Linked DNA regions of Homo sapiens: region 1 is linked to region 2. Evidence: promoter capture Hi-C in human tissues and cell types (Jung and others, 2019). All regions are on one chromosome and are shown on one strand. Each heading gives the region's core, a stretch centred on a gene start or on the middle of the fragment in contact. The rest is flanking DNA. Distances are from core to core; before and after follow the strand shown. Region 1 has its middle 5.6 kb from the start of OR10G6. Region 2 holds the start of OR10G9 (olfactory receptor family 10 subfamily G member 9).

Evidence for each region. Contacts are between HindIII fragments. The study calls those that stand out against the background at their distance.
Region 1: a fragment that was not itself captured here is called in contact with the fragment with the promoter of OR10G9 in region 2 in 1 of the 25 tissues and cell types used here (H1 embryonic stem cells).

What each region holds. Positions count from the first base shown.
Region 1 is chr11:123,988,163-123,991,014 of GRCh38, reverse strand. No RefSeq gene overlaps it. Among named protein-coding and RNA genes, the nearest start is that of OR10G6, 5.6 kb to the left of the region's middle. The HindIII fragment of the contact is 7,262 bases long and covers 1-2,852 here.
Region 2 is chr11:124,021,636-124,024,822 of GRCh38, reverse strand. It overlaps OR10G9 (olfactory receptor family 10 subfamily G member 9), which reads right to left and starts at 1,810. Exons shown (of 1, transcript NM_001001953.1): 1 at 875-1,810. The coding sequence starts at 1,810. The coding sequence ends at 875. The HindIII fragment of the contact is 4,788 bases long and covers 1-2,561 here.

The sequences.
Region 1 (2,852 bases), core at 103-2,602, 33 kb after region 2:
CATCTTATGATATTTTTGACTTAGGATGGGTTTATCAGGACATTAATTCCATTCTAAGTTGAGGAGCATGGAGAAAAACACTCCTAGGAAAGAGATAAGAAAAGAGGTGTCATAGCAAAGTCTCAATTTTTTTGTCAGGCTTGACAGTCACTAGCCAGATTTTTCTCACCTACCATTTTTATGCTATACGCAGGTGGTGAAATACAGTAAGCATGATTTGTTCAAAAAATTATTTCTATTTGAATTTATTTGGTATTTTGACTATTTCATTGAGCTTAAAGGATTAGGCTAAAAATAATTGGGGGAAGTTTAGTCATGTTGATTTAAATTGTATGAACAGTATATGTATAACAGTATATGGTATAAATTGTATATGAACAGTCCAATATTGGAATTGACTTTTCTGTGAAGTAGTGATATTCTCATATTGAAAGGGTCATGTAAAATTCAGCGGTTTGAGTAACTGACTTTTAAAAAATTAAGATTTTATGTTATTTCACATACTATCCAGGGTTAATAGCAACTATTAATAGGACACTCTTTATGCATTATTATTTTCATTTTAAAGGTGTGGAATTGATGTATTTAGCAAGAGGAGAAGAGGAAGTGAGCAATCTTCCAAATATCCTTCAACCAGTAGTTGACAGTGACAGGACAATAAACCCAAGTCCATCTAACTTCATAGTTCATGCCATTTTTTGGCTCTCTTTCAAAGATATTTATGGAAAACATTCTTCTTCTTAGGGAACTATATCACATACACATAGAAAAGTGTAGAAGTATGCTAAGAGAGTTTCTGAACAGGCTACATATCAAAACACACTGTTAAATGCCACTGAGTTTACAGGGGAACCAAAGCATTCTTAGGGTAGAAAGACAACATGGAGAGGATAGGCTTGATCTTAACCTCGAATAGTAGCTTAGATTCTTGCTACTCAAAGTGCAATTCATGGAACCACATAATGGAAATCTCTGGGCACTTATTAGAAAGACAGAAATCTCAGTCCCTACTCCAGACCTGTTGAATTAGGATTTGCAGCTTAACAAGAGTCCCAGGTGACTCATGTGCACACTAAAGTCCGAGAAGCTTTAGAGATGTTATCAGATAAAAATGAAGTTGATTTCTTCAAGGGGGGATTGGGTAGGGTGAGGAGAACAAGAGGAGATTAACAGTAAATTTAGGAGAGGTTGAGAAAATCTACTTGCATAAAGAAATGCTTATTGAACAGAGAAATGTACTTGAGTAGAGAAAAGTTGTAGGGGATAAGAATAAATGGATACCAATCACATTTTAGAAGTTTTGAGTTATAAATTGAGAATTTTGTGTTGCACAGTAAATCAGTATGTGAGATTGAGATTATTAGCATTTGTGGGAGGGGACCAGTGAGATAAACTCTTTTGAAATTTGATCAGTCAATGTTATGCAGGATGAAGTGATTCATTAAAGGGGAGAGGTGAGAGTTGAGAAGACCTTGCAGGAGATTATAATTATAATCCCTGAGACATAATGAAATGAGAGACTCATTATGAAATGAGTCTTTTATGACCATTACCCTCAGTCTCTCATTTCGTTATGAGAATGGCTTATGATGGGTTTCATCTCATTATGAAATGAGAAACTAAGGATAATGGTTATAAAAAATTAAATGCAGATACAAATAAGACTTACATTTCAAGAAAAAGGCTATTCATGTTTTTTAAAAAACAGAAAAATTCAAATGGAATTCTGATATCTAGCTTTACCCATTGAAGAGAATAGAAAGGGTGTGTGTAGTAAGACAAGTCCTTTTTTTTTATTTTTAAAAAATGTTTTATTAAAACTTTAAGCAACTTAATAATGTCAAGATTTTTAAAAAGTATACTCTAATCCCATTTCCTGATCATATCAATTTCTTACATTTCCCCAACTTTGGCTGAAATTTTAAGAATTGTGTTTTTTGGGGGGGGGTTGCATTCTTTTTATTATTATTATACTTTAAGTTTTAGGGTACATGTGCACATTGTGCAGGTTAGTTACATATATATACATGTGCCATGCTGGTGTGCTTCACCCATTAACTCGTCATCTAGCATTAGGTATATCTCCTAATGCTATCCCTCCCCCCTCCCCCCACCCCACAACAGTCCCGAGTGTGATGTTCCCCTTCCTGTGTCCATGTGCTCTCATTGTTCAATTCCCACCTGTGAGTGAGAATATGTGGTGTTTGGTTTTTTGTTCTTGCGATAATTTACTGAGAATGATGATTTCCAATTTCATCCATGTCCCTACAAAGGACATGAACTCATCATTTTGTATGGCTGCATAGTATTCCATGGTGTATATGTGCCACATTTTCTTAATCCAGTCTATCATTGTTGGACATTTGGGTTGGTTCCAAGTCTTTGCTATTGTGAATAATGCCGCAATAAACATACGTGTGCGTGTGTCTTTATAGCAGCATGATTTATAGTCCTTTGGGTATATACCCAGTAATGGGATGGCTGGGTCAAATGGTATTTCTAGTTCTAGATCCCTGAGGAATTGCCACACTGACTTCCACAATGGTTGAACTAGTTTACAGTCCCACCAACAGTGTAAAAGTGTTCCTATTTCTCCACATCCTCTCCAGCACCTGTGGTTTCCTGGCTTTTTAATGATTGCCATTCTAACTGGTGTGAGATGGTATTTCACTGTGGTTTTGATTTGCATTTCTCCGATGGCCAGTGATGGTGAGGATTTTTTCATGTGTTTTTTGGCTGCATAAATGTCTTCTTTTGAGAAGTGTCTGTTCATGTCCTTCGCCCACTTTTTGATGGGGTTGTTTTTTTCTTGTAAATTTGTTTGAGTTCATTGTAGATTCTGGATATTAGCC
Region 2 (3,187 bases), core at 561-3,060:
GAATATTTCCAGACATTGCCAAATGAACCAGGGGACAAAACAGCCCCAAGTGATCTAGATATTTAAGAGATTTAATGTTTTATATTGAATCTTAACAAACATAATAAAATAGGCGCATGTGATAAGTGCATAAACTATTATATATGTAGCTGTAAATCGTACATTATCATTGCTGGATAGTAATCTATTCTGTGAATACACAATTTCTATTTGATTCATTGATAATATTTAAATATTAATAGCTTGCTATTTTTGCCCATTAAAAATAGTGTTTCTAGAAATGTTTTCCAATACATGTATGTAAATAGACAGATACATATACATACATGATGAAAACCTATATGTTAAATATGCTAAATGCTACAGACTTTCTTTTGTATACACGTTTGGATTTGTATAGACACATACAAATATACAGATACATTAAAACCAAAAAGAAATTTGAACAGCTACAGCCACAATTAGAAAAATGACCTCAAATATTTGTTGCTATTTTTGAACGATGTCTCCATAATGGTAAATTGTTAAGTTTGTGTGCAAAAAAAATCAAACAAAACACAAAACTTTTTATCAAGTTGTAAACATGAAGGACTCAACCATCTATCCCGGAGATTCGATGAAAATATTTTTTTAAATTAATATGAACCTATTGATGAGAAATGAATCAATAAATCAGAATATAAGCATGTTCCTCATACACATAAGTCTAGCTGTGAGGTTAAAACTGTCTTAGACAATCTGTGGAAGAATTATAACTGTGCAGGTGTTTTGGAATAATGTTTAACACTGAGAACTATACATATAATCAATTTCACATGAATAACTAAATTATATTACTATTTTTAAACAAACTAGTGTATCTACTTCCTAGTATTTATTCTCCCTGAGAATGTGCTACTTTGTCTCTCAGTTTCAACACAGCTTTCTTCACCTCCTTGTTTCTCAGGGTGTACACAACAGGGTTGAGAAGGGGTGTCAGCACAGTGTAGAAAATGGCCACAACTCCATCCACGACGTCCCTGGAGCCTGGTCTCAGGTAAATGAAAACACAGGGAACAAAAAAGCAAAGGACCACGATGCAGTGGGAGGCACAGGTCTGAAAGGCTCTGTGCCTCCCCTCTGAGGTGTGGATCCGCAGGATGGAACAGACGATGGACACATAAGACAGCACTATCAGGAGAAAGCAGCCCGAGGCCACTAGCCCAATGTCCACAAAGATGACCATCTCGTTGGCTGAGGTGTCTGCACAGGCCAGTTTCAGGATGGGCGGTGCATCACACAAATAGTGCTGGATCTGGTTGGGTCCACAGTAGGGCAAATGGAAAGTCAATATGGTCTGGACAGCAGAGTGCAGAGAGCCACTGAGCCAAGTGCTGGTGGCCAGGAGGGCACATCTGCTCCCACTCATCATGCTGGTGTACCTGAGCGGGTAACTGATGGCCAAGTAGCGATCATAGGACATGACTGTGTAGAGGAAACACTCGGTGCTCCCCAGGAAGTGGAAAAAATAGAGCTGAGCCACGCAGCTGTGGAAGGAGATAGCCCTGCCGCTTGGGGACACCAAGGTCATCAGCATTTTGGGCACCGTGACAGTGGAGAACCACATGTCAATGAAGGACAGGTTGGTGAGGAAGTAGTACATGGGGGTGTGGAGGTGAGAATCCACCCTGATCACCAGCAGGATGAGGAGGTTCCCCAGCACAGTGAGCACGTAAACCACCAGGAAGATTCCAAAGAGTGGGGCGTCCAGCCCTGGGGCATGGGGAAGGCCCGTGAGGATGAACGCTGTCACGAGGCTGGTCTTGGACATTTCTTCTCACCCTTGGTCTCTCTCCCTCTGGGGATATAAGGAGCACCCAGCATTTACCAATTAATTGATAACTGAGAAGTCATTCTCTATGTGAAAACCAGGTAGATAATTCTGGAGTTTTCATGGACTTTGCTTGTTACAAAGCTTCCTTCATAAAGCTAATGAAGTGATTTCCTAGTCTCTCTCTCTCTCTCTCTCTCTCTCTCTCTCTCTCTCTCTCTCTCTCTCTCTCTCTCTCTGTCACATACAAACACACACACAGAGACATACGCAGAATAAATTAGGAGAAACACATTGTCTCGATTTCAATGGGTGCATAAATTACCACAAACTTACTGGCTTAAAACATGCAAATTTATTGTCTCGCCCTTTCTGTGGGTCAGGTCAGCTGGGTTCCCTGTTCAGGGTCTCACCAGGTTTTAATCAATGTATCGCCAGGGGCTGCAATCTCATCTGAGGCTGGGATCATCTTCCAACCTTATGGGGGTTGTGTGCATGATTCAATTCCTTGTAGTTTTAGGACTGAGGTCCCAGTTTTCTTGCTGTTTGTTGGCAGGACATATCACTCTCACCTTACAGAGGTCCCCCTAGGTGCTAGAAAGTCCTAGCTACTTGGTCTTCTTAAAACACAACAGGTTACTTCTTTGAAACCAATGAGATAAACTCTCTCCAGTTTGCTATGACAAAATGTTATATAATGTTACATAATGCAGTCAAAGGGGTGATATCCCATCATATTAACAGGTCCCAGGCATACTCAAAGGAAGGTTATTAAACAGAAAGTGTATACCAGTGGGCAAGAATCTTGAAGGCTGCTTGGAATTCTATCTACCACATTCTATTTTCGCTGCCTTGCTCGTGGGAAAACTTAAAAAAAAAACACCAAGAATTTAATTATTAGTAGCAAGGAGTATTTGAAAACTGAACAGTACTAGTAAATCATTCTCTAGTTCCCTCTTATGTTATTTGGCATTACTAACATCACCTACTCACCGAGAAATTATAAGCATTAAATAAGATGATACATTTAAACACGTAGTACTGTGACTGGCAGGTAATAACTGCTCAATAAATCACAGTGAGTCTTACCACATTGTGCCTTGCAGCAGTATTATGGAATTGCTGTTTTTGATCTTAGAGAGAAAGAGAGTACATATATTCTTTCAGTGTTTTCAGAGAGTTCTGAATCTAAGAGCTAGGTCTTTTTGTACTATTGTATCCCTGATACAGTTACTGATGTCCTCACTACTGCCTGCTTTTAAAGGGCTTCTCCTAGGTCTCTCAGAGCAGGTAAGAATCTCAGCATAACTCTATAGTAGGATTCCCATGTCCTCCCAAATCATCCAGAGAGCACCAAGCTTCTTACGTGACTGCCCC